Linked DNA regions of Homo sapiens: regions 2, 3, 4, 5, 6 and 7 are each linked to region 1. The links are contacts of gene promoters, found by promoter capture Hi-C in blood cells and fetal thymus (Javierre and others, 2016). All regions are on one chromosome and are shown on one strand. The core of a region is centred on a gene start or on the middle of the fragment in contact, and the rest is flanking DNA. Distances in the headings are between cores, read along the strand shown. Region 1 holds the start of UFL1-AS1 (UFL1 antisense RNA 1). Region 2 has its middle 29 kb from the start of MANEA-DT. Region 3 overlaps MANEA-DT (MANEA divergent transcript). Region 4 overlaps MANEA (mannosidase endo-alpha). Region 5 overlaps KLHL32 (kelch like family member 32). Region 6 overlaps KLHL32 (kelch like family member 32). Region 7 overlaps KLHL32 (kelch like family member 32).

Evidence for each region. The method cuts DNA at HindIII sites, captures the fragments that hold promoters and counts their contacts. A CHiCAGO score of 5 or more calls a contact.
Region 2: a contact is called between a fragment that was not itself captured here and the fragment with the promoter of UFL1-AS1 in region 1, in 1 of 17 cell types (activated CD4 T cells). The highest score is 5.9, in activated CD4 T cells.
Region 3: a fragment that was not itself captured here is called in contact with the fragment with the promoter of UFL1-AS1 in region 1 in 1 of 17 cell types (naive CD8 T cells); the score reaches 5.2 in naive CD8 T cells.
Region 4: a fragment that was not itself captured here is called in contact with the fragment with the promoter of UFL1-AS1 in region 1 in 7 of 17 cell types (total B cells, non-activated CD4 T cells, total CD4 T cells and 4 more); the score reaches 9.1 in total B cells.
Region 5: a fragment that was not itself captured here is called in contact with the fragment with the promoter of UFL1-AS1 in region 1 in 1 of 17 cell types (activated CD4 T cells); the score reaches 5.1 in activated CD4 T cells.
Region 6: a fragment that was not itself captured here is called in contact with the fragment with the promoter of UFL1-AS1 in region 1 in 12 of 17 cell types (total B cells, activated CD4 T cells, M0 macrophages and 9 more); the score reaches 12.7 in total B cells.
Region 7: a fragment that was not itself captured here is called in contact with the fragment with the promoter of UFL1-AS1 in region 1 in 2 of 17 cell types (total B cells and naive B cells); the score reaches 6.0 in total B cells.

Annotation. Positions count from the first base shown.
Region 1 is chr6:96,519,516-96,523,526 of GRCh38, forward strand. UFL1-AS1 (UFL1 antisense RNA 1) reads right to left here and starts at 2,199. Exons shown (of 4, transcript XR_007059687.1): 1 at 1-2,199. UFL1 (UFM1 specific ligase 1) reads left to right here and starts at 2,291. Exons shown (of 19, transcript NM_015323.5): 1 at 2,291-2,435; 2 at 3,631-3,776. The coding sequence starts at 2,359. RefSeq lists enhancers at 134-1,007, 1,008-1,879, 1,880-2,751, 1,896-2,085, 2,752-3,623. The HindIII fragment of the contact is 5,811 bases long and covers 1-4,011 here.
Region 2 is chr6:95,546,482-95,550,492 of GRCh38, forward strand. No RefSeq gene overlaps it. Among named protein-coding and RNA genes, the nearest start is that of MANEA-DT, 29 kb to the right of the region's middle. RefSeq lists an enhancer at 2,539-3,155. The HindIII fragment of the contact is 1,437 bases long and covers 1,401-2,837 here.
Region 3 is chr6:95,563,931-95,567,941 of GRCh38, forward strand. It overlaps MANEA-DT (MANEA divergent transcript), which reads right to left. Exons shown (of 3, transcript NR_104136.1): 2 at 3,298-3,383. Among named protein-coding and RNA genes, the nearest start is that of MANEA-DT, 12 kb to the right of the region's middle. The HindIII fragment of the contact is 4,478 bases long and covers 1-4,011 here.
Region 4 is chr6:95,589,805-95,593,815 of GRCh38, forward strand. All of the region lies in intron 2 of MANEA (mannosidase endo-alpha), which reads left to right. Among named protein-coding and RNA genes, the nearest start is that of MANEA, 14 kb to the left of the region's middle. The HindIII fragment of the contact is 1,877 bases long and covers 881-2,757 here.
Region 5 is chr6:97,077,490-97,081,500 of GRCh38, forward strand. The region is part of intron 5 of KLHL32 (kelch like family member 32); the gene reads left to right. Among named protein-coding and RNA genes, the nearest start is that of KLHL32, 150 kb to the left of the region's middle. The HindIII fragment of the contact is 2,524 bases long and covers 477-3,000 here.
Region 6 is chr6:97,059,580-97,063,590 of GRCh38, forward strand. All of the region lies in intron 4 of KLHL32 (kelch like family member 32), which reads left to right. Among named protein-coding and RNA genes, the nearest start is that of KLHL32, 140 kb to the left of the region's middle. The HindIII fragment of the contact is 4,952 bases long and covers 1-4,011 here.
Region 7 is chr6:97,040,217-97,044,227 of GRCh38, forward strand. It overlaps KLHL32 (kelch like family member 32), which reads left to right. Exons shown (of 11, transcript NM_052904.4): 4 at 1,276-1,383. Among named protein-coding and RNA genes, the nearest start is that of KLHL32, 120 kb to the left of the region's middle. The HindIII fragment of the contact is 7,360 bases long and covers 1-4,011 here.

The sequences.
Region 1 (4,011 bases), core at 949-3,448:
TCAGGTAGCCATTGTCATTTTCTAGCAGTACTTAGTGGAAGGTTTTATGACTGAGTTCCTGTCTTTTAAATAAAGCTGGGGAATTTAATAGACAATTACGTTTATGGCATTGGATTTGAGTTGCCCACAGTAATGTACTTAGATGGAAAAGAAATTGAAATAGCTCCCCTTTACCAACTCTATCAATATATGATTAAAAGGAATATTTTTATTTTTTAGTTTTTAATTTTTGTAGGTACATAGTAGGTGTATATATTTATGGAGTACATGAAATATTTTGATGCAGGCATACAGCATGTAATTATCACATCAGGGTAAATGTGGTATCCATTACCTCAAGCATTTCCTTTGTGTTACAAACAATCCACTTGTACTTTGTTTTTTAAAATGTACAATTGAATTATTATTGACTGTACTTCCGGAAAGGTGTCCCAATCCAGACCCCAAGAGAAGGTTTTTGGATTTCATACAAGAAAGAATTGAAAGCAAATCCATAAAGTGAAGCAAGTTTATAAAGAAAGCAAAGGAAAAAAAAAATGGCTATTCCATAGGCAGAGCAACGGCTTGAGCTGCTGGCCTAAGGATACCTATAGTTATTTCTTGATTACAGCTAAACAAGGGGTGGATTATTCACAAGTTTTCCAAGGAAAGGTGTAGGCAATTCCCAGGGCTGAGAGTTCCTCCCCATTTTAGACCCATATAAGGTAACTTCCAGACGTTGCCATGGCATCTGTACACTGTCATGGCACTGGTGGGGGTGTCTTTTAACATGATAATGAATTATAATTAGCATATAATGAGCAGTGAAGACGACCAGAGGTCACTGTATTCATCATCTTGGTTTCTGGTGGGTTTTGGTTGGCTTCACTACTGCAACCTGTTTTATCGGCAAGGTCTTTATGACTTGTTTTTCCTGCCTGTGGACCTTCTATCTCACTCTGTGACTAACCTCCTGGGAATGCAGCCCAGTAGGTTTCAGCCTTATTTTACCCAGCCCCTATTCAAGATGGAGTTGCTCTAGTTCAAACGCCTCTGACAACTAGTCACCCTGCTGTGCTATCAAATACTTGATATTATTCATTCTTTCTAACTGGAATAATATTTTTTAAATAGTAAAGAGTGAGATACATGAACTCCAAATATCTGAGACAGGTCACAATCAACTCAGAAAGTTTATTTAGCCAAAGTTAAGAACTTGCATCCATGACATGGCACAGATCCTGACAACATGCGCCCAAGGTGGCTGGGGCACAGCTTGGTTTTACACATTTTAGGGAGACATGGGGCAGCAATCAATATATGTAAGATAAACATTGGTCTGATCTGGAAAAGCGGGGCAACTCCAAGTGGGGAGGAAGTTCCAAGTCATAGGTAGATAACAGACAGTTGCATTCTCTTATGAGCCTCTCCAAATGAGGCAATCAGACATGCATTTATCTCAGTGAGCAGAGGGGTGACTTTGAATAGAATGGGAGGCAGGATTCCCTAAGCAGTTCCCAGTATGACTTTTCCCTTTAGCTTAGTGATTTGGGGGTCCCATGATTTATTTTCAATTCATAAGATATAAAAAAGATATAAAAAAGAAAGGTACACCTGAGTAAATATCTACTCAACAGGGAAGCAGGATACATGTTCTCTTTGCTTTCCCTGTTTCCTTGATAGCCATGCACCTTATGTTTATATTCCTCATTATTTGATGAAGTTAATCATTGCAATAAGAGAAATACGAAAGACTCTAGAACTCTAGACACGAAAGCAATTATACAGCCTTTATGACACGCAAATTTATTCACTCTGTAAAAAAAAAGTAATTACTTTCGGTAGGGTCTCCCATGTATCTTCCAAAAGGCAGACTGCTCTGGGTGCATGTAAAAATTAACACGATACCCTATACAAAAGGGAATGCTCAGAGTTAACAGCTAGAGAAGAGAGGCGCCAATCTTAGACACAGGCTTATTCCTCCGCACCCTCCCCCAAAACAAATGGAGGACAGAAGAAAAAAGAAAAGTAGTTAATACAACTATTACTCTACGGAAATATTAGGGGTAGCGCAAACAAAGTTCTGACACTAAACTTTACTGAGCCCTGCATCCTGCCCACGACCCCCCCAGAAACACCTACGCACCACTCTCCTAGCCGCCGCAGCCCCGCCAGTCTCGCCGGGAGGAACCCCCAGCGCCGCGGTACAACCACGGCACTTCCGCCCGCCCCCCGCGCCTCGGGCGCAAGCGTTTGGTGTGTCTGCGTCGGGGGCGGAGCCTCTTGTCCCTCTGCGCGGCCCGTTCCGCCTCTCTTCTCCCACCGCCTGTCGGCTGACGTGTCTGCAGTTCCTCCGCGTCTACTGCGAGTCAGGCCGTGATGGCGGACGCCTGGGAAGAGATTAGGCGGTTGGCGGCCGACTTCCAGCGGGCGCAGTTCGCCGAGGCCACGCAGAGGTGCCCGACCCTCCCTCTCCTTTGTGGAGCCCAAATTAGGCCGTGGGCGGACACGCCTGTATCTGGGACTTTAGACCCGCGGCCCTGCATCCCGGGTCTTCTCGCTGCTTGTCACCATTCTCTCCTCCTCCCTCTGTCCCGAGCCTGGATCGCAGTTCCAAGTCCAAGGCTCGGCGGGAAAGTCCTCAGCCTAGGACGCCCTGGAGCCCCCCAGCCCAGCTGCAGCGAAATGCTGGCGCGCCCCGCCCCACCATGGACGGGGCCGGTGATTTCGAGCTGCCTTTATTGAGCATTTCTTTGACCCTCCCTCACCCACCAACCACCAAATCACTGTGACATCTTGGCTATTATACACTTCCTGATCTAGAATGAGCTCGAAAGGAGAGGCTAACCCCCGCCCCCAGTACAGTACTTGGCAAATAGTATGTTGATCCTTAAAACTTCTTGCCCTTTTATCTCTCGTAACAGACCTAGGGCTAGACCCCTGACCCCATCTGTTATTCAGGGCACTGACATTTTCTACAAGCCCACTAACCTTTGGAGGATGTGTCCAGAGGAGCCTAACTCTGCTTTTTAAAAATAACGCTAATAGAAGCCTTTCTATTCTTTGACTACTTCCTACCTGCGATGTTTTATTCCTTTTGAGCCGGAAGACAGCAATCCCCTTATGCTGTATTTTCTACCACTGATAGCAAACTCGTAACTGCATGGGTAACTAACGTGGGTAAAAGTTATGGTTTCACTAGGCCACATCCCCTGCCTGCTTGCAGACCATGTGTGTAAGTGAGGCAATTATGCACTTAATTTAAAAGAAAATTCTGATTAAACTGGAAATTAGGGCATTTTTTGTTTTGTTTTGTTTTGTTTTTTCTTTTTTCCTACCTAAATAAATGTCTTCAATTTTCCCTTCAGATTTGAAGATTGGAAGCAGGCCTGTAAGAGACAACAGACTTGAAATTTGTGATGGGATGATGTGTACCAATTAAATAAATGATTTAAGCATATGTAAACCTACTTACTCTGAAAGGTTTTTTTTTAACTTATTGAATCAGTTAGTGAAAAATACAGATATTGTGATGTAGAAGTTAGTGACTAAACAAACTTTTTAAAAGCCTGTTTTCATACATTGTATTAATTTTATTGAGCGCCAATGTCTCAAGTGGACTTTTGAAACAACTTTTTTTCTTTCCCTCAGGTTGTCCGAGCGGAACTGCATTGAGATTGTTAATAAATTGATTGCTCAGAAACAGCTAGAAGTAGTTCATACACTCGATGGAAAGGAATATATTACTCCAGCCCAAATTAGTAAAGAAATGAGAGATGAGCTACATGTCCGAGGTGGTAGGTAATTCTTTAGTGTTTTTTTTTTTCTTGGATTTTTGGAAGGGGCAAAACAAACAAACAAAACCCGTAAACATGTAATTGCATACTAAATTATAGATTGTAAGATATCGTTTTCAATTGTTAATTTGATAATCAGGCTTAATATTTTTACTGGGTTCATGCAAACATGGTCATATAATTTAAATGAACTCAAATGTTGTCACTTAAAATATTTTATCATTTTGAGTTATGT
Region 2 (4,011 bases), core at 869-3,368, 970 kb before region 1:
TGTATGTATCTATATATGTGGTTAAAGGTGATGTGTTAATCACCTTTTTAAAATATCTGTATTTATATATTGTTTTCATTTACCACTATCCTTTTGTCTAACCATTTCTAATTTATGAAACACAACACAAACAGAAAGGTGCACAAAATATTAAATACAGTAAAATATAGTATGTATATATAAATCATCATGCATCCATCCCCCAGATTGAGAAACTGAACACTGTCATCACCTCCAAAGCCTCCAGGCTGTTACTTCCCAAACTAAGACTCCTCAATATTCCTTAGTCTTGTGCCTGTCTTTAACTTTTATAATAATCACAACTACATATTGTTTCAGTTTTATCACTAAGTACACATTGCTAAACAATACAGTTGGGTCTTTCCTATTTCAAATTTTTTATAAATACTACCTACTGATTTGTGTGTTTTTGATTTTTTTTTTTGCTCAACATTCTCTAAGATTGTGCAGTGGCCATTTGCTTTTCATTACTATGCAGTATTCTATTATATAAAAATGTCACAATTTATTTAATTCAGTCTCTTATTAATGGTTATTTGTTTTATTTCAAGTTAGGGTAACACAAAGAGTGCTCCTTATAATATTCTTTGCATTTCTTTAATGCAAGCATTATCACTTTTGTTTTGTTTTGTTTTTGTTTGTTTGTTTTAAACAAATAGAGTAATGGATAAAGAGAGAAAATGTCATTTACTTAATATCATGATGCTGGTAGAATTGGACTTTAAACCTAATTCTGAAGTCTCTGTGACTCCAGAGTCCATGTTCTCAATTTCTTCAATAGTTCTTGTAATAAGAAGCACGTTTTAATGAAAATAGTGACAATTGAGATGAAGACAATTGACAAATTCAACCAGTTCTAAGAATACAGATTCAATATGATTTTGTGATTGAGGCAGTTGCTGAAGGAGATGGAAAAATCAATAGTAACATTGATTAAGCACCTGGCTTGAGTAAGTGATTGGTGGTGTCATTTAGTGAAATACTAAATACAGAAAAATGACCAGGGTTGGCAGATCAGGAATTTAGATGGACTTGAACACACTGCATTTCGTACCTGCAAGACACCACTTGACTAATAGTAATAGCTAGCATTATTGAAAACTAGCAATATGCCAGGAATTGTTCTGAAGTATTTACATGCATTAATTTGATTCTCACAACAAACCTATGAGGCAGATCCTATTATTGTGTCCATTTTATAGATGAGGAAAGAAAACTGAGGGAAACAAAAGCTTAGTAGAACCTCAATGTTACAAAGCTAGTAAATGAGATGTTTACTTAAGCAGCCACTTCTAAAATTCATATTCTTAAGCATAAAATATGTAAAGTCTTTTGATAAAATGTCATGGGCAATAGGGAGTGAGCTATACAGAGGCTGAAGCTTAGGTAAGAGATCTGGGCTGGAATATAAATCTGAAAGTATTTACATGTCATTGAATATATGTAATTATTAATGTAATATATGTAATCAATTACATCATTAATTATGAGCCATAGGTGATTTTGCCCCCTAGGAGACATTTGGCAGTGTTTGAAGACATTTTGTTTGTCATAACTGGGGTGGGTGCTAATAGTATCTAGTCTGGGGGGTGGGGCAGGGAATTTGCTAAACATCCTACAATGCACATGATTGGCCCTCACCACAAGAAATTATCCTGTTCAAAATGTTAAATTGAGAAACCCTGTCCTACACAGATTAATCATTGGATGGAGGCCCACCTAGGAAGGAAGAGTGATGCGGACTAGGAAACTCTTCAGCTGAGACTTGTCTACTGACAGCACTTACAGCAGCTCTGGTAATAAGTTCTTTATTCCTAACTAGGAATGTATCAGTGTGTCACAGCATCTGTCATGATTATGGAAGGGAGATAAAGAAACACAGCCAGATGGGTCCCTGACGCAGGGGGAACCCTGCTTTCAACCACCTGCTGGGTTCAACAGTGTATGAAGTCATGCCTTTCCATTTCCTGCAATTCTGATGCTTTGACATCTCAGGGTTTTGCTGATCCTGGAAAGCCTACCCCTTCCAGGACTAGCCATCTCCTGGCTCCTATGTAGCCATATCCTACATAGTAAATGACTGGCCCAGGACTGTGAGATTCATATGCAAACCAACAATGCAGAGCTTTCACACCCCACAACCTCCTCTAGGAGGCTGTCACACTCAGGGCCACTATGCGCTGCCCTAATCACTCCAGAGTCAAATACTAGACAACTAGGGACAGTTCCTATACCCCAGAGTCTGCTGGGATTATTTAAACAAGCCAATTCTAAACCTGTTTACCTTGCTGCAGAAACCAAAATAAAGGCTCTTGCTCACGCTCTCCATCACCCCTCAAATCCTTCTGCCTCCTGACTGAATCTGGTGCTTCCCAGCATGGCCTTGTGTGGCATGGCATACCCCTTCCTCTTGGGAACAAACTGTCTATACAATGGCCAGTGTCTCCTGATTTTTGGCGTCACAATACCTGAATAATAATGAAACCTACATTTTAAACTGACTAGGTTGTTTGAATGATTAATTTATTTCTGTTGGGGTTTTATTTGTACGTATGTCTTTTATTTCTTCTTTTTGTATTGAAAGCATTTAAAAACTCTCTGCACGAGATTTGGTGGTCGAGTGGGTGCTATATTTACTATATTAATGCAAATTTTCATTTTTTAAAAATCTGTTTAATCTCCATGATAAAAAGTATATCCACACATGGTATTTGTTATAAACATTATAGATGCACTGTCATTGTCTTATTCACTATCTACCTATTGCTAATACATTCCACCTCTCTGATTTTGAGTCAGATAGTTTATGCGCATAAAGCTTCTACCAAATATTTAATGAAGTATTGTCATTTGTATTGCTTTGTAAAGAATCTGTAATCCCCTTTGATCTGTGTTAATGAGTCATGCATTGTTTATTTCCAAATAATTACTTTTTAACTTTAGCTATTAATGGCTATTTTGTATTGTGATCTAATAACATGGCGTGTACAACTTCAGCTTTTCTTTTTGTAACTGATTTAACATTTTTCTGGCCTATTAGATGACCAGTTTTTACAAAAGATCCATTGGCTTTTAAAATAAAGTGTATATTCTGTTTATTTGGAATATACTTGATCTCTTTATTTTAAAAATCTATAAATTAGAATAGTATATAGCCTTTACTTTTTTACTTTTTTCTTACATGAGTATTCAAAACCTGGGAGATGTTTCTTCAAAGCTAAATTTTTTTCTTTTCTAACTTCATTTTGTAAAATTGTATAGCACAGCTTTTACTTTAAGTATTTTGTAGCTATGTTATTTTTCATATAAAGGTTTATGATTCTAATATCTTCATTGTGGATATATCATTTTTAAACATAAAACTGAAGTCTTTTATAATTTATGATGACTTCTTTGCCTCAAAATCTGATACAGCTGATTTTAATGTTATGATCTTTCTTTTGTTTGCCTTTAGATGATGTATCTATGCCAGTCTCTTTTTCTATTTTTCTTTTCTTCCTTTTTTTTACCTCTCTAGGTCATATTCCCTTAGGTACGTCCCTTGGAAACCACATATAATTGGACTGATCTTTAATAGAACAGTTTAACCCATTCAAATTCAAAACTTTTAAGTTGTTATATCTGAAAACTTTGTTCATTTGCCCTTTCAATTTTAACTTAAAAAACGCTTCTTTACTGTCTTTTTCTTATCTGGATCCTTATGGAATACAATGTTCTCACCTTTATTGCTAACGCTTCATATAATATATATCTTATTTTAAAATTTTACAGATACATAAAAGTTAAAAATAAATTCCAATGATCAATTTCGCAAACCAAATAATGCTTTGATACCACCTGATAGAATTCTGAATATTAGTATTATTTTACTTTGCTTCCTTTAGCTCTCATTCACCTCTCAGTTGGGTGAAACGAGGTTTTTATAATCAGAAATTTGAGATGTAGATTATTATGGTCATTTTCACATGTTATATATTCTATCTTATGAAT
Region 3 (4,011 bases), core at 779-3,278, 960 kb before region 1:
TTATCCTGAGAGACAGAGAAAGTACTGGAAGGTTATAAGGACAGGAATCACATGATCAATTTGATTTTTAGAAAGATCATTCTGACTGCAGTGTGGAGGTCGTATTGAAAGGCCAAAGGCAGGTGAAAGATCAATCAGAATGAGAGATCTTAAATGAAAGATAATAAAACATTTCATTGGAGTGGTGATATTAGAAATAGAGAAAAGTTAAATAGGGAAAGAAATAGAGAAAAGTTAAATATATTTTGAAAGATTTGTATTTTCTCTGAGGGGAAAAAAGAGGCCAAAAATTATGGCTTGATCTATAAGATCTATAATGATGTCTTGATCTATAAGATGTATAAGGATACTTTCCACTGAGATATGGACCAGAAGAGCACAAAGTGGTTATTGAAGGCATGAAAATGAAAAGAGACTTCCAACAGTGAGTATGTGTCATATGAGAGAGCGCCTAGACAGAAGAGAGTCTATTTAAGATCTAGACCAAGAAAGAGAAGTCTACAGGGGAATTGTGGAGTTTAAGAAAAGTAAGAGAAATAATATTAGGACCCAATATAATATGTTTAGAACATGTGGGTGTGCACAGAGGATTGAGTGCAGTAAGCGCTTTACATGGATGCCTAATGTCAAATTGGAGAATGTGAGGTCAAGGAAACTAGAGGGAGAAAATGTTCAAGATGGATGGAGCTGAGTATAGAGCTGAATATAGCCAAGATATCAAGTATGGTATAGACTGAAAATATATTTAGTGCAAGGAAATCACTGGAGACTTTGTGAAAAGCAATTCCTGAGGAGTGCTGGGGGCAGTAACAATTGTACAGTAGGTTTGAGAAGTCAGAGAAGGTGAGAAAATGTTTCCCATGCCTTGCCAGCAACTCCATTAGCCTATATATCTAGAATGAACAATATAGAGTCACCTTTGATTCTTTTCTCTCATTTGTCTTCTGCTGCTCATTCTAATTGCACAATAACTCTTGGTTCTCTCTGGCTTCTCCTTGCCATTACCTCCAAAAGAGCCACTCTTGTTCAATCCTGCTTTGATACTTTCACACTACTACTCCATTCTTGTTTATAGAAAATATTCCATAATTAGTTATTATTTAATACCCAGTATAAATAGTACTTGTGTGAGTAACCGCCCCCTCCAAATAACTTTTCTCTGAACTCTTACAACACTTCATTGGAACCCTTTTAAATAACACTCATGACTTTTTGCTTTGAGTGAAGCCATCTACATGCATGTCTTATCCCCCTTCATAGACTGTTAACTTCATGAGGGAAGAAGTCTTATATTTTTATATTGTACATATATCCTAAAACAGATAATCTAAGTACATATTTTGGTTCTGCACAATTTTGGCCTATTGGACCTTGAGCAAGTCTTATCTAGGTCCTCTGAATATTTTTCCTTCCAAAATGTGATAATTTTCTATGCTGCCTACTTAATATTAAAGATTGTTTTCAGAATTTATAAGAGTAATGTAATTGAAAATGTTTTGAGAGTGATAAAATATAAAAGAAACTATTTTTATATTTTTACTATGATTGCAGGAGTTAGTAGTAGTACTGTTATGATTATTATGTACTGAGAATTGCCACTCTATTTAGACATGCAGCAATTCAGCCAATCAATACTTTAAAGGTTAATTTCTTCAATTTAGAGCATAACACCTACAGTGAAGTCTGCCATTTATTTTGATGAATAATTCATGGAACACATATTTTACTTAGAGATTGTTTCTTTCCCTAGGTGTTTATACTAGGAAATATAGCAACTGAATTTGATCAAGTGCTTGAGCCTAATTGATCAATTAATTTTTTTTTTACCTTTTAAAGTGCAATATTAATGTGTGCTTGTCGTACAAATACAAACCATTCTTAAAAGTATATATAAAAACTGAAACCCACTTTCTATGAAAAACACTGTTAAAGTGTTTGGTATGTTTATTTCTAAAAATTTAGACACATATACATTTGTTTTTTGTTGTTGATGTTCTCTCTCTCTCTCTCCTCATTCCTGTATGTATACATATTTGTATATGCCTATATATTTACATAATATAATTTATATTAAACGTACTTACAGATACTGGGGTAGGTGGAATAATGGGCCCCCAAATATGTACACATCCTATTGCCCAAAACCTGTGACTATGTTACTTTACATGACAAGGGAGCTTTGCACATGTGGTTGAGGTTAAAGATTTTGAGATGGGTTGGTTATCCTGGATTATTCAGTTGGACACAATATAATCTGATATCCTTAAATGTGAAAGAGGAAAGCAGATGAGTGGGTCGGATAAATGTGATATGAGAAGAATTGGATCTGACATTGCTGGCTTTGACAATGGAGGCATAGAGCCATGAGCCAGATAACATGGAGGCCCCTAGGAACTGGAAACTGCCTTCAATATATAGCCAGCAAGAAAACATATACCTCAGTTATACAACTGAAATCTGCCAAAAAAAATAATTGAACAAGCAAGGAAACAATCTCCCCAAGAACCTCCAGTAAGCAAGGCAACCCTGATGACACCTTGATTTTAGCATAGAGAGACCCATGTCTGACTTCTGACCTACAGAACTGTGAGATAATAAATTTGCATTGCTTAAGCCACTTAACTTGTGGTAATTTATTATGCCAACCATATAAAATTGATACAGATATATCTTTACATAGCTATCTACATAATTTTGCAAATTCATTCTTCTTAAAAACTATATATGGACATCTTTTCATGTCATTTACAAAGAGAGATCACTGTGTGCAGTTTTTTCTCATTATGGGTATAATTTTGTAGGAAAAATAGCTAAATATAGAATAGCTCACTCAAAGAGTAGTGCAGCCAAATTTCCCTTCAAGAAGGTTCTACCAATTAGTATTCCCACCAATAAAATGTGAGAGTATACATATTCCACATCCTGGCTACAACTGGATATTATCAGTCATCTTAATGCCATGGCCTTTGTCCTTTCAGGACTCAAAACTACTTTTATAGATATTGAGTACCTTTATTTCTTCTTTTTATGACTCTCCCATGTATTCTAATGAGACATTAGAGATCTACACAGGATTTTATAAGACTGTCCTCTTGCCCTAGTAGATTTTCTTACTAAGATGAATTGGCAATATAAAAGTTACTAATTCAGAAAATATTTAAGGACAATTTTTAATAAAAAGGTCCATACTCCTAGGTCTCAAAGATTTGTGCTTAAACTCAACTGACTAGGCAGCTAACTCTACACGTTCAAATGGACACTTCCTGCACCACGGTAGATAAAGTTACCTACACTTACCTCAAGTTCAAATTCACTCCTCAGTCTGTTGCTACCATGATCACCTCTTCCACTCCATGTTCTGAGAGTACTAGTTTCTAAGCGACCTAAATGAAAACAGAAAGGTGTCTTGGGATAATTTATGAACACCTAATAGCTAATATGCACTGAGATAAGCTAAGTCTCCAATCAAGTCTTAGAAAAGTCTTTCATGGAGAATATACTTAAAATTATTCTTGCTTATCAAGTGTTCCCAAATTCCTCCTAGATCTTCCTTTAGTTTTTAAACTACAAAATATTTTTAATTTGCTAAAACTATAAAATGCATATACCCACCACTCAGGTAAAATTTAGCCCTATTTGCCTGAGATACAAAGTTATTTTGTTTCCCTGAATATTTTTTAGTTACCTCTTGTAAAACTTTGTATGCCTAATGGGTTCTTGATATTATCATTCACACTATTGCCTCTGCAGCTGATACTATTATGATGACTATTTTGGTTAGTGTGAGTACATGTTTGATTAATGACCCATTCTTTAATTTATATATTTTTATTGGTCTGTTCAGGTTCCCCCTTTTTTTTTTTTTTTTTTTTTTTTTGAGACGGAGTCTTGCACTATCACCCAGGCTGGAGTGCAGTGGTGCCATCTCGGCTCACTGCAACCTCCGCCTCCCCAGTTCAAGTGATTCTCCTGCCTCAGCATCCCAGGTAGCTGGGATTAACAGGTGCCCGC
Region 4 (4,011 bases), core at 569-3,068, 930 kb before region 1:
TTATTTTATTTGGCAAAAGGGGAATTAGGGTTGCAGGTGCAAAAGATTGCTAATCATCTGAACTTGAGATGGCATTATCCTTCATTATTTGGGTACAGCTAATCTAGTCACATAAGTCCTTATAAATAGAAGAAGAGGGAAAAGAGAGTCAGAGGGATGCACGAGAGACTCGACCCCCTGTTGCTATCTTTGAAGATGGAACAAGAAGTTCATGAGCCAAAGAATGTGGTAGCCTCTACAAGCTTGAATGGCAAGGAAAGGGATTCTTTCCTAGAGCCTCCAGAAAGGAATGTCATCCAGTCCAATACCTGGCCTTGATCTTAGCATATTAAGACCCATGTCAACACTCCTGACATGCAAAACTGTAAGGTAATAAATTTACGTTGTTTTAAGCAACTAAATTTGTGATAGTTTGTTATGGCAAAATAGAGAACTGCTACATTTAGCAAAACATAATGTACTCTATGACTTTAAAATTATCTTCCCATTGTTTCAGTTTAGCACTAAATATTTATTGATTTTCCATGACGTTCCAAGCTTGTGCTAGATTCTAGGGACATAAAAATGAGCAAGTCACATTTCCCAGTTCCTTTGTTTTCATCATTGTTGCTTTAAAAACACTGGATGGATTTCAACATTAGAATATTTCCTGAAAGTATGACATATTTGTTTTAGTAAGGTTACAATTCTTACTTCTGCATCTCCTGCCTTTAAAAATTTATACATAAAAGTAGAAGTCACAATGAGATGAATTAGACACATAAAGTTTAAATGTACCTAATAACATCTAATATGATGTCATAAAATTTCCTTTTATAATAACTATTTGCATTAAGTTTAAAGGTTATATTTATAACTGTAGAGTGGTGATATTCCATAAAGCTTTCATATTGCTATAGATGCCCAACCTTTGGCTACAAAAAAAATTTGAAAGTATTCATTGCAAGGAGACAGTCTACTTGCAAATAATATATACTTAATGTGTAATGTAAGGTCTTCACCACTGATATTCCCTATGTTTCCCTCCCATAGTTTGCTATTGTCGTAATTCTGTCACATAAGAAATGGTATTTTACTATCATTGCTGTAGGCCAGAGGTTGGCAAGCATTTTCTGTAAAGGACTGCCTAATATATATTTTTGATTTTGTGAGTCCCTCACTCTCTCTCTTTGCAACCACTCAGCTCTATCCTTATAGTGTGAAAATGGTTATAAGCAATAGATAGACAAATATATAGATGAATTGGCCTGTAAAAGGCAAGATTTGGCCGATGGGTCATAGTTTGCTGATCACTCTTTTCAATAATCAGTTGTTTTTCACAGTGATTAAAAGTAAGAATGTTTTTTACATTTATTCCATTTCTACTGTTCCCCATCCATATTTTAATGTAGATCCAAGTGTATGTCTAATATCATATTCTTTCTCTCTTAAAAATTTCTTTTATCTTGTTTTACTGGTCTCCTTGCAATGAATATTTTCAAATTTTGTTTGTAGCCTTTATTTTGAAAGATGTTTCATCACCTATGGAATTCTCAATGGGCAGGTTTTAGGGGATTGTTTTCTTTTGGAATTTTGAAAATGTATTCCATTTCTTTTTTTCTTCTTTTTCTTCAGTCTTTCATGGTTTCTGATGAGTAGTCTGCCGTAATTTAAAAAAATCTTTTTATATCCTCATTTTCTTGGATGGATATGTTTTGTTGTTGCTGTTGTTGTTTTCTGGCTGCATTTAATTTTTTTCTTTTTTTCTTTTTTCTATTTTGTTTTTTAGCAGTCTAAACATGGTATGGTTACTTGTTACTCCTGTTATTTTTTGTTATTTATCCTTCTTGGTGTTCTCTGAATTTTTAATCTGTTGCTTTGTGTCTTTTATTAATTTTGCTAAATTCTTAGTGATTATTGTTATTGTTTTATGAGATGGAGTCCCACCCTGTCGCCCAGGCTGGAGTGCAGTGGCCTGATCTCAGCTCACTGTCACTGCAACCTCTGCCTCCTGGGTTCAAGCAATTCTCCTGCCTCACCCTCCCAAGTAGCTGGGACTACAGATGTGCTCCACCACGCGTAGCTAATTTTTGTACTTTTAGTAGAGACAAGGTTTCACCATGTTGTCCAGTATGGTCTCGATCTCCTGAGCTCGTTATCCACCTGCCTGGGCCTCCCAAAGTGCTAGGATTACAGGCGTCAGCCACCGTGTCCAGCCTGATTATTTTTTCAAATAAACCTCCTACTTCTGGGTTTCCAATTACATGTGTACTAGAACTTTGATATTTATCTCGCAACTGTTAAATGCATTGTTCTATTGTTTTCCCCAGTCTTTTTTCTCATTATGGTAATTTGGATAAGGTAATTTCTTTTGACTTGCCTTGAAGTTTCCTGATTATCTCCTCAGCTCTGTTAATGAGCCTATTAAAGGCATTAATTCATCTTTTTAAGTAGTCTTTCATTCCTGGCATTTCTGTTTTATTTGTTCTTATAGTTCCCATATCTCTGCTGAAATTTGCCAGATCTTGTGTGTTAGCTACTTTGTCCATTAGATCCTTTAAGATATTCATTACAGTAATTTTATATTCTCTCTCTGATGATTCCAACGTATCTCATTTGTGAGTCTGTTTCTATTGATTGCTTTGTTTCTTGTCAGTGAATTGTTTTTCTTGCTTTTTTTTCTGTACCTTGTAAAATTTTGTTAAAAGTATGTCACCCTGGGTAAGATAGTGAAAATTGTGTTACGTCTAGAAATGAGCTTGCCTTTTTTTCTCTTAAAGCTTTAGTTTGAAAGAATGTTTGAGATGTTCAAAAGAAGCTCTAAATTTCCTATGAACACATAACAAGTTTTCTGGGGCTCAAGGTATCCAAATTTATCCATCATTATACTGTCTTCTTGTTATTAAGTGTTATTTATAATCACTTTTTAGGTGTTTTACTCTGCATGATGCATTCTCTCATTTGTGCTTTTTAAAACAGGCCTTATCCTACATTTTACAGATGTGGAAACTTAAGTAAAATAACTTACCTAAAGATACTCATCTATCAAATAACAGAATAAGAACTCGATTCTCTAGGCCTATCTGATTTTTATACCCTATATTCTTAACTGTTATCCTATTTGAATGCATCACTTTACTAACAACAAAAAAAATTGACTATCAATTATATTGAAGGTCCTGTAATAAGTGGCATGGAGGGGTGACATGAGCAACATGACATGAGTTTTTGCATTTAGTTTGCTAATATTTCAAGAATGGACTTCAAAGAGCATCCTAGAGTTTGCTAAGCAATTAGGATGACAGAAATACAGAGTAATAGATTTTACTTATAAGTGATACTCAGTTGGCTTATTTTATAGACACTTCTCTGGTTACTATCAAGGATTCACTGCCATTGTAAATTCCCAACACTCCTCAGAAGTACGACAATCACTGGCGTGGTTCCCAGGCTAGTATTTATTCAGTGCCACAGTCCAGAAGACACTGTATAATGATTAATTGGGCTGTGGATCACAGTATAGGGATAGAATTAGATATCTGGAAGTCATAATTGATGCAATAAAGAAGCTGAAATATAACAACATTGTAAGGGAGAAGAAAGAACATTCCTCCAAAGCCATAGAGTATACTTGCAAAGAGGATAAAAGAGGAAGAGAAATTACTAGACCAAGAATGGGATGGTTAATTTATTAGGAGAATCAGAATAATATGGCAGCGCTATCCAGTAGAATTTTCTGTGATGATGAAAATATTCTCTATCTGTGCTGCCTAAAACAGTAGATACATAGTCATATGTGGCTATTGAACACTTGAAACGTAGCTAGTTGAGTGTGCAAGAAAACTTAATTCTTTTAAATTTTAATTTATATGGTAGATATGGGTATTATTTTGGAGAGCATAGGACTAGAATGTAATCAAGCTTGAGGAAGAGAGTAAAGAAATGGTGGAATGGAGATGATAGTATAAAGATGGAAAAGACTGGCTGGGTGTGGTGGCTCACGCCTGTAATCCCAGCACTTTGGGAGGCCGA
Region 5 (4,011 bases), core at 489-2,988, 560 kb after region 1:
GGGGAAAAATCTAACATATAGAAAACAAGGAGACCCAAGATTCACTGTGGAAGTCAGGCCTCATGTATCTGGCACCACAAGAGGGCATTCCATTTTATTTCCCAATTGTATGAAAAACCCAGTACCTAGATAGCATCGCAAGGGACTTTCTGAAGCTCAGATTAAGTACTTAAGAACACTTTTCTCAGTTAATTGTGGGAGAGCTGTTTATTTTGCCCAACTGTTAAGTTGTATCTATAACCAAGCTATTATTTCCTCTTTTCATGTAAAGTCATAGATGTGCCTCACAACTGTTTGCTTTTTTTTCATTCTTGATCCAACAAATACTTCTCTGTTGCAATCTATGAGAAAGACATTATGATTGACATTGTGCAGAATACAAAAAGCATACGATGCGAAATCTACTTTTTACTAGTTTACTAGGTACATTTTTAATAGTTTGAAGATAAGCTACATGCATGAATAGCTTAGTGACAAGCTTATGTGTATGTGATAGGAAACTTGAAGTGGGAGGCATTAGAATTCATTCAGTGATAAAGAGCCTTATACTTACCGTATCCTACTTGCTACTTGGTCCTTATAAGCAGCTGATACAATTTTTAAATTTCACTTTGACTTAACATTGTTAAAAATCAAACCATACTGATTTTTATGTAGAGTGGTTTCTCAGGCTGTTTGGAATAGATTTGGGAGTGGTTTTAAAAAGAGAATTTCTTGACTTACAGAGCCAAGGATGGCCTTTCATTTAGAGAAATTTTCAAATTGTGATATAAAATCAACATTTTATATAAGAACTTCATGTATGCTACTACATCATGGGCATAGAACCACTATGTCTCCTGCCTATCTTTATCTATAGTAAAGTATCGACATGGGGTAATTTAGGTGACATTTCGAAGGAGAGTTGTCTAAGTGAAGTGCATCAATAATTGGAAATGAAAGATTATAATTACATTGATGAAACAAAGCATTGTTAAAATAGCCACATCTGTTGAGTGTTATTACCCGGAAAAATCTGTAATCCTATTCAATTTGGACATCTTAGAGGGGGAAAACTTGGGAAATCAAAATGAAATTACTCTTGTTTTAACCTTGAGAGGAGTTTATTATCTTTAACCCAAGTCATAGTTTTCTATAGTGATAGTACATGATGCTTATTTTTCTTTCACACGTCAGTGGCATTCTCAGAACTAGATGAGACAGCAAGAGAAATAGGTGTTTTTAAGGCTTTGTTTTGAAGGGTGCCTCATCTAGTTTTAAGAATGTCAAAACACCTATTTTTAAGATGACTGCATCCACTGTAGACTAACTCCATTATCTACCCCACAAACAGATATCATATAATTATGCATAATGTGTATAATTTCTGTGTCAGAGGCATGATTAAACTGCAGTGTGGATGGGCAAGGGGTTATTGACAAGCCAGGGAGCCACGGCGGTAGCCAAAACTAAGACTATGTTTCAGAAATTCAGATGATTCTCAGCTTGTATCATCATTGGCACACAAGACACAGCTCTTGAGCGTGACATCCCTAAGCTAGGCTGTGGGTTATGTGTGGTAAATATGCAGACTCTAGGCATAAGGCTGCATGTTTTTCTCTCATTCAAGAAGGTATAGTAGAATACAAGTGAGTCTGGGTGGCATTATTTCATAGGCTTAAATCTACTCTAAATTATAAACAAAGTACTTCTTGTATGAACTTTGGTCATTTATTAGTAGTTCCTGCATAATTGAGATATTGAGAGACACCGCAAAGGCCATGGCCACTCTGCTGCAGATGAGACCCACCAGGGGACATCACCGAGGCCAAGACTCCTCCTTCTCTTGCTGCCTTCACTGGCTTGGGAAGGGTGGGCTGAAAGGCCACAGGATCAACACTGTCCTCAAACTGCCCTCCTTCCTCCCATTCATGTCCTAACTGCTCGATAATTGCCTTGCAAATGTAACTACACTTGAATATAAACCAAAATAAAACAATATTTGCCTTTCCCATATTTTTACCCCTACCGTATTTGGTAGTTAATCTGGGGAATAACCATTGAAGGAACCAATTAGGGAAAGAGGCCACACAGAAAGACTGAGTTTGGGGAATATATAAAGTTTAAAAATTATTGAACTTGAAAAACTGGTGTTTATTCCATAGCTAGTGTGGTATTGAGGACACATTTTATGGCTCCTCTTCTCTTATTTAACTTGTCATTCACACTATGAGAAACAAATAGAAGGAATAAGAGAAGCCAAATAGCCCTAAACCAAAGGAAAATAAATACTATTTAAAAATATTCCCTAAAGAACAACAATGTATGCACCATAATTCTGAATAGAAACTAAATTTCAAGTGAGAAGCAGTGTGACAGAAATGAAACCTTTTTAGAAAAAAAAAAGAGTAAGATTTTCTTTTACTCAAGAGAGTTTCTTGTTGCTGAGCTGTAATTTCCATTCAAAACCACTACCGCTACCTGGATACTTACATTTTTAAGTCACAGAATGCAGGAGAGCTGAGACAATCTCGTAATTAGGAAAAAGTATCATTTGAAAAGATATTAAAATCTTTTGATCTAAGTAGCCAATTGATAGAGGAAATAATTCTCTGTTGGACTGTAAAAGAAATTTGGGGTGGATTGATTTTTTTGTCACAGAAGAATGATTATATTATACTTGTTCAGTAACACTTTCAACTCTAGTCATTATTACCAATTTTCCCACGCAGAAAACAGGATGACCACTGGCTTTGCCTTTGTGTGTACGTGTCAGAAGGCCAGAAAGAGAAAGGGACAATCAGGAAGGCCTGTGAGATATGAAAAATGGCCTGATTTGGACAAGGTTCAGAATTGGATAGGCATATTGGAAAGACATGGGCTATTCTGTTTTTGCCTAATTATAAGTAAACAGAAAAAGCTCATGGGTATTCTTTCATTAAACACACATGTATTAAGCATCTGCTCCCTACTGGATACCAGGGACACACAAGGCATGAGACACAATCTTTGCTTCCGAGAAGCTTAGATTTGGTAGAGGGAGATAGATCTGCAGTTAAAGGGTGCTTGCAGTGACAAGTGATGTGCTAGACATATTTGCAGAGGGCAGAGTAGAAGTACACAGGAAGAGGTGGTCAATTTGACCTGACCCAGGGAAGTTGAAAAGATGATATGGTTTCTTCATTCAGCAAGTGTGGCTTGAACGTACCTGGCATTGTTCTAGGCTCTGGGGATACAGTGGTGAACAAACCAGCAGCTCCTTCCTCCCATGGAGCTTACTGGGGGATCAGGGGAGGAGACAAGCACATTATAAACAAGTAGGCAAATAAATGCTGAAGATAATTATAGGTGGTGACAAGCTCTAAAACAAATAAGATGGAGAAATGTGATTGACGGTGACATGGAGAGGAAGGGAGATGTGCTGTATAGGATATTCAGATGAAACAAGGGAAACACAATTCCTATCCCATAGGAATTTTGCTCATGCTGCTTCTTTGGCTTGGAGCATCTCCCTGAAATCCTACCATCATCCTGTTTTAAAATGTAGATTTTGTTATTATTGAGTTATGGTGAGGCCAACAGATCAGGAGACAATTACCATTGAAAACATGATTTGTTTCTGCTCCAATAAGAGGGCACAGACCACACCTCCAGGACTGCATAGGGAAGCCCCAGGGTTGGTGAGGAGGTAGAAGGAGTGAGGGGGGAAAAGTGGACTAGAGTCTTTATAGTGGTATCTGCAGGAAGGAAGTGGGCAAAGCAGGGTTAGCAGGCTTATGATTGGCTAGTTTGAAAGTTTCCATGGGTTCACGAGTGTAGGGGCTGGCTCTGGTTGTCTGGTACTTGGCCCTGGGATGATGGGGACAGAGGACTATTGCCTCCTGGAGTGTAGAAGCCACATAGAGGAGGTGATTTAGAGTATGGGCTCTGGATTGGTTAGTTTGCATATGAAAGCCGTTTGCTCTCTCAAAGAATTGGCTAGCCCTGGGAGGGGCAGTCTATTCTCAGTCAGTGAAACCCCAGATGCCAGAA
Region 6 (4,011 bases), core at 813-3,312, 540 kb after region 1:
AGATGTCAGATATAGATGTGCAGTGCATGAGTCAATTTAGAAAATTCTTTTCCTTTAAATGGCTGCCACCTTGTGGATAAAAAGTCCTTAGTGCAGTGGTTTTGAAACTAAAACTAGATTGGTAGAAATTTCTCATAGCTAGATAGATCTTGTGTTTCATGTTCCATCTGTGAGAATTCTGTCATAAATAACTTTATGCAAAACATTTTATGTGTGTTGAATATATGATCATTTAACAGCTATTTATGCTGTTGTATCCAGTTCATTTGATGATTATAAATTCAAGATTCTGATAATTTGCCATTCTGTAATACTATACAGGAAAAAAAAAATACCAAAGAAACAAACTATAAAGAAGGGAGGAAATGTAATCATTTATTCTCATAAATGGTATTAGACCACTCTAATTTGCAGTTGTACAAGCGCTTGTTTTGCTTGCAAAAGCGTGTTGTTCATGTGCACACATGGTATGTGTGTTTACTAAAGACCTTAGTTGTCTGATTTTAACATGCTCAAATCCTTCAGTCCACTGTACACATAGACCAAGAAGCAGGTAATTAAAAAATCTCCTTATGCAAGAAATGAAGAAGATAGCTTTGAAGATCTGAAGATACAAAATTTTCTGAAGATGCCAACTCACTTGATCACAGGCAGGAGAAAAAAAAAGGTCACACTGAGACTTACCATGGCTGTTAAAGACAGTCCCTACCAGCCACCAATCCAAGAGGCTAGGTATAAGGGAGAGGGAAAATAAAGAGAAAAAGAAGACAGAATTGAGAGAGTGGACATCTGATGATCCAGGAGGATGAGCTGAAGAAGGAGGGGCAGGGATGCCCTGGGGACTGTGGGGTGTCCCTACTCCCACCGCTCAGTCCCAGCTCCACCCTCCCAGAGCCCCCATGTGAGGTGTGGGCACTGACTGAGGTGGCCCACGTCATCATGCTCTATACAGAATCTCACCTCAGGTCCCATTCTCCTCCTCTTTCACCGGATTCTGGCCCCATATTCTGCCTGGAGACCAGGAGTCCCAGTCTTATTGCAGTTTAGAGGGTCTTCATTGGAGATCATGCAAATTCTCCTGTCTGCTACCAACCCTGCTTGGATTGGTGACCAGAGGACATGTTGGCACACAGTATTCAAGAGTGCCTCCTACCAGGAGGGTGATTGGGCCACCTCATGACTGAATTCTGACATAATTTCTCCTACCAGGTACCCATCCCCTTCTCCTGCACTTGTGGGTTTTACACTATTACTTTGTCACACCATTCTGTGTCACCCTAAATACAGCCACTGGTCGGTTCTTATCCCCACCAAAATGAGTGTAGAGTTTCAGCATTTGGAATGGGAATCAGTCGTGGCCCTCTCCTTATTCATATGACCTTGCCTGCTACAAATTGCAGGAGATGTTCCTGGGCCAGACCCAAGTAATGAGATGTGATCATCTCATTACTTGGTGAGGTGAGACTAGAGGTGACCTCTCTGCTAGCACTGTCCAACATCCCTCATTCGAGAACAGCCCCTTGTGTTCCACCACCTGGAGGTCAGGCGGGGAAAGAATCCTCTATACAGGTGGTTCTGTGAACAAGAAACATTCATGCCCCCACCTAAGTTTGCTCCTGGTTGCATCAAAACCTGTTTGCAAATCTGGAGAAGCCCCAGCTCTACAGGTGAGCTCCACCCAAGCAGGTGAGCGTCACTGGGGGTAGAGGCAATGCCCAACCTAGTTTGGCTTCTTTTAGGGTTTCCTTTCCCCCCACTTCCCCCAGCCCGCCCCATCCCGCCCCTGGATTCTGGACCACTTGGCTTTATGTATCTAGCATTTTCTTGATCTCTTGTTATTAAGACATTTTGTCTTGTCCACTGTTTATGCCTCTAGCTGTGATATGCTCCTCCAGACTGATGAGTGACTGGATGTGTCAGGCCACTCACATTAGCTCCTATTCCCACCCTGTGTGCTTTCAGATCTTGGGGAACATCTCTTCCTTCCTGCAGGTGGTCCTTGAGTCACCCTTCTTCCTATCTGTCCTGGTTTGAGTGTCAGACTACATGTTGATGGGTATGTTTCTGAAATACCTAAATATAATGCTTGGCAGAAGTTAAATGCAGCTGTCTTAGTTGTTCTCCATAAACCTGTGTGTTTGAGATCCCTTTTTTTCTGCAGAGGTTGTTCTTTTGGCCAGTCCTTCGAGGCAGGTGACAGATAAATTCACCACACTGTAAATCATGAGGAGACTTGACCTTTGATTTCATTGCTGGCCAAACACAAATTCCCTGGAAAAATATATTCGAACAGTCAGTCACCAAAGAGCAACAAAGCTGAATCAAAAGCCTCTGGTACAGTGAGGTTTGCAAACACTGGTTCTGTTTCCATAAGTGAGAACAGCTGTCCTGGTAGGGTTTCTTTCTCCAACCCTTTAAGAGCACTTAGAGATTTTCTGTGCTAAAGCATATTTTAGAAAAACTTATGTTATAATGAGTGGAAGGAAAAAACTACAAAACAAAAAATAAAAAAAGACAAAAACAATCGCCGTATGGGTTTTTCATGTGCAGGCTTCTGGAAGTCAGCCTGCTGGACATGTAACACATGCTATGGAATATTCATCTTGTCTCTCTGTGATCACTGTCTTTGTGTTTGCTATTAGTGAGCCTTGGAGGTTATCATAAATACCAGTTGTGTGAAATGAGCGCAACTGACAGGATTTAAAGGCTAAACCAACCTTTCTAATCCATCTATTCCCCATTCTCCTCCTTAGGCCATGCCTCTTCTGCAAGACTATACAACATCCTTGCTCCTCTGATGGGAGCTGCACTAATTTCGTGAATGTCAGTCAAAGCCTCCTTCCTTGAGGAGTTGGCGAAAGACGGGTTTCTCTTTCTGACTAGATGGAAAAGGAGATATAAAGATTTTTCAGAATAAGATGAGTGTTGGTATTTTTGCCACATGTGCTTAACTTTTTCACTTCTTTACTTTGCCACTTAGAAATATAGAGTCCTTTTTTCTTTCTTATAAAATTAGTTAAAATTGATTCTGAATAAAAAACATGTGTAGAGATCAATTAATTCATTAGCATTTTAATTAAGTAACTTCATGAATATTGAGCAACAGCTATGTGTGCTGAACATTGTTCTAAGTGCTGGGGATACAAAATAGACTAAGTCCCTGCTCTCCTGAAACTTATACTGAGCAGAGAAAAATTAGCAAATAGGCAAAAAGATATATAATGTGAGGTGGTAAGCACTATGGTGAAGAATAAAACAAAGTTAGGAGCTAGGGAATGATGGCTGTTCAGGGGTGGGTTACTGTTCTACATAGGATGGTCAGGGAAGGTATCTCAGGTAAGACGTTATCTGAAGTATATGAGGGAGTGGCCCAGGCAGAGCAAACAACTAGTTGTAAACACCAAGGTGCTCAGCATATTCAATAACTTTTTAGGTTATAGTGGAGACTTTTTGGATTTTATTTTCATGGAGATGGAAAGTCTTCAGAAAGTTCTGAATAAAAACAGTGACATGATTTCATTTGTGGTTTTAAAGAACCAGTCTGGTTGATATTATTAAAACAGATAGTGTGAGTGGACAAAGGAGAAAGCAGTGCAACTAGCTAGGAGGTGATTACAGTTAAGTTTAGGAAGAGGAATGGACTGGACTAAAGCAGTGATTATCGAAGTCATGAGCAGTGATTGAATTCCGAAACTATTTTGAAGATAGAACCAGCAGGACTGGCTGATGGATTCGATATAAGGCCTAAGGAAAACAAGAGTCAAGAATGACCCTGAGGTTTTCAAACCTACCATCCAGTAGAAAGAGAACCTATAGTGATGCAGGAACAAGAGGGGAGAATTGCAGGCAGAAGGGGTTGGGATCAAGCACACAAGTGGACTGTTGGGGAGAGCAAAAGGTACTGATACAGATGTAGGTAGATAGGTTGGTAGATTTGGTGGTAAGAGGTTTTCAAAGATCATGAAGTGAAAATCCAGTGGCAGAGAAGGAGTTGGAGGCTTGAGAAAGGAG
Region 7 (4,011 bases), core at 406-2,905, 520 kb after region 1:
ACAAAACTTCTCTCATTATCAGTAAACAAAATTGAATTCTCTTTATATTTCTTAAGTCAAAGATTAAAGGTGCACAAATTAGCATGGGGTTGTATTTTTTTTTTCCTTTTAAAATGCATTTGTTTTAATTTGTCAAGTTTTTGTCTTTTTAATTTCAAATTTTCATTTGACATACTGATTTGCAGTAAATTGGCCATTTGGAGAATTGGTTGGGGGCAAATTCACTTGCACTGAATAGCTGAGTGGTTCTCAAATTCAAGTGGGCATGAGAGTCACCTGGAGGGCCTATTACAGCACAGATTGCTGGGCCCTGCTTGGAGTATCAGTTTCAGTAAATCTGCATTGGGGCCCTGAGAGTCTGTACTCAGACACGTTCCCAGGTGATCCTGATGTCGCTGGTCCAAGGGCTACACTTTGAGAACAACTGAAACGGAGTGTGTGATACATGGCTTTGTATCCCCACCCGAATCTCATCTTAAATTGTAATCCCCATAGTCCCTATAATCCCCACATGTCAAGGGAGAGACCAGATGGAGGGTAATTGGATCATGGGGGCGATTTCCCCCATGCTGTTCTCATGATAGTGAGTGAGTTCTCACAAGATCTGATGGTTTTATAAAGGGCTCTTCCCCTTCCCTCGGCACTTCTCCTTTCTGCTGCCTTGTGAAAAAGGTGCCTTGCTTCGCCTTCACCTTCGCCTTCGCCTTCCACCATTATTGTAAGTTTCCTGAGGCCTCCCCAGTCATTCTGAACTGTGAGTCAATTAAACCTCTTTCCTTTATAAGTCACCTAGTCTCAGGCAGTTCTTTATAGCATATGAAAATGAACTAATACAATGGCAGATGAGAGGAACTAGCTGTTTCATTGGACTGAGGCAGAAAAAAGCAGAGAAGTCAGAAGATGAAGGCTTTTCATGTCCTATTGGGCAGGATGTTTGGCATTGCTGCATATAACTTGGTAGCAATGAGAATCCAGGACCAAGAGAAAGCGTTCGGTGGGCCTAAATACTATCACCTCAAAATGAGACTGTGTATTACATATAGAAGTACTGTATATGGTGAGGAATGCCATCCTGTGTGTGTTGTTATTGCAACTGTTCAGACATCAAAATGATTTGCAGTGGTTTGTGTGAATGACACTTTCTAGAAGCATTTCAAAAATCAAAATCAATTATTAATTTGTAAAACTTTTTTTTCCCCTAGTCTCTCTAGAATTTTGTCTTGCTCCCTTGCTGTCAAAGTCTCATAACTGTCTTTCTCCCTTTCCTCACCTCAGGCAATGTTCAGTCTTTGTATGGTGGAAAGTGGAGCTGATGAGGTTAATTTGCACGGTGTGACCAGCCTTGGCTTAAAGCAGGCTCTGGAGTTTGCATACACAGGACAGGTATGGTATTAAATGTGATCTGTAAAGTTTAACATTTCAACTACATCTAACCAAAGGAGATTATCCTTGAGGTATGAGATTTAGTTATTGTTCTTGTTACTCATTTTGATGTTAAAAATAAGATTCACATCCTCTTAATTTTATGACTAAAGTTATGGAAAGGTAAGTAAAGCAATTTGATTTTTTAATATGATCCAGTGAACATAGTATTTTAAATTTAACTCAGTGCTTGCTGGTGTAATTTTTTGAATATCTTAAAGAACTATCGTAAGGGAAAGAGTTTGCAAGATAATGGATTCTCATTGTTATCACTGAAGCTCGGTGACTCAATCATGGCTTTATTGCCTTAAAAACAAGACAAAAAATTTAGATCCCCAAAAATTTATGTCCAACGTCTTGGTACCATGTCCTCCACATATCTCAGAGTCAGAATTGAAGGCATTTAGATTAGTAGATTGTGATGGTTTGAAATCCTAATACATTAATGACCAAAGTTGTTATAGGATTTATAGGACATCAGAGGATATCCATTTACATTTGAGAACTACTCAAATAAATCAATTCAAATACAGACTGGATGTTTAGCTCCCCTTTTATAAATTGTTGTTCTTTAACAACATTTCATCCAACGTGGATTTAGTATCTTCTATGCTAAAATGAAAGTGTCTTCTCTTGAGATGCTCACATCCTAGTAAGAGAAAGACAGGCAAATACATGATTAAAATCCTCACTGGTATTGGAGTTATAACAGAAGCAGAATACAAAACAGAGTGGGAGAAGGATGCATGTGGTCAGGTGTGGCTATCAGTACACAATTTTACAGATAGGGTGGTATTTGTGTCTTGAAGAATGTGTGGGAGCTCATTTTTCTACTGAATTTTATTTTTGTTTAATTTTATTCTTAATTAGCAAATAATAATTGTATATACTTATGTGATGTAAATGTGATGTTCTGATATATGTTTACAATGTGGAATGATTAAATCAGGCTAATTAACAAATTTATCACCTCACCTACCTACCTATTTTTTTTGTGGTGAAAACATTTAAAATGCACTCTTCTAGCAATGTTGAACTATACAATGCATTATTATTTATTATAGTTACCATTCTGTGAAGTAGATCACTACAGCTTATTCCTGCTGTCTAACTGAAACTATATACCCTTTGATCAACATCTCCCATTAGTCCATCCACCCCTGCTACAGTTTGGATGTTTGTCCTCTCCAAATCTCATGTTGAAATTTGATCCCCAGTGTTGGAGGTCGGGTCTGTAGGTGGATGTTGGGGTCATGTTGATTGATTCTTCGTGAAAAGGCTGATGCTCTCCCTCAGGGTGTGAGTGAGTTCTCACTGTTAATTCCTGAAAAAGCTATTTATTAAAAAGAGGCTGGCACCTCCTTCCCACTCTCGTGCTTCCTCTCTTACTATGTGATCTTGGCACATGCCAGCTCCGCTTCTCCTCTGCCATGAGTGGAAACAGCCTGAAACCCTCACCAGAAGCAGATGCTGGAGCTATGTTTCTTGTTTAGCCTGCAGAACCATAAGCCAAATAAACCTCTTTCTTATATAAGTTACCCAATGTCAGGTATTCCTTTATAACAACTCCAAATGGACTAAGAAAACACCCTCCCCTAGCCTTTGGTAACCATCATTCTACTTGCTACTTCTATGAGTTCAACTTTTTTAGATTCAGCATATAAGTGAGATCATGAAGTATTTGTCTTTCTGTGCCTTGCTTATTTCACTTAACATAATGTCCTCAAAGTTCATCCATGTCATTGCAAATGACAGGATTTATCTGCTTCTTAAAGCTAAATAGCAGTATGTTGTGTATACATACCATCTTTTCTTTATTCATCTGATGATGGACAACTAGGTTGCATTCATATCTTAGTTACTGCGAATAATGCTGCAGTGAACATGGGTAGGCAGATGTCTCTATAGCATACTAATTTCAGTTCCTTTGGCTATTACCCAGAAGTGGAATTGCTGGTTCATATGGTAATTTTATTTTTACTTTTTTGAAGAACCTCCATACTGTTTAACATAATGGGTGTATTAATTTATATTCCCACTAACAGTGCACAAAGGTTTTTCTCCACACCCTCATCAATACTTGTTATCGATTGTCTTTTTTTTATAGTAGGGGTGAGGCGATATCTCACCATAGTTTTAATTTGCATTTCCCTGATGACTAATGATGATGAATTTTTTTTCATATATCTGTTGGCCATCTGTATGTCTTCTTTTGAGAAGTGTCTATTAGGTCCTTTGCCAGCTTTTTGATTGGGTTATTTATTTTCTCATCTTCTTGTGATGGCTCTAGCTTTGTTCTTTTTGCACAAGATTGCTTTAACTATTCGAGTTCTCAGTTGTATTTTTTTTTTCTTGTCTAATTTCTCTGGCTAGAACTTCCAGTACTATGTTGAATAGAAGTGGTCAAAATGGGCATACTTGTCTTGTTTCTGATCTTAAAGGAGGAGCTTTCAACTTTTCACCACTAAGTATAATGTTAACTCTGGGCTTTTCAGATATGGCCTTTATTGTATTGATATACATTCTTTCTATGCCTAACTTGTTGAGAGTTTTTATCATGATAGGATGCTGAATTTTGTCAAATGCTTT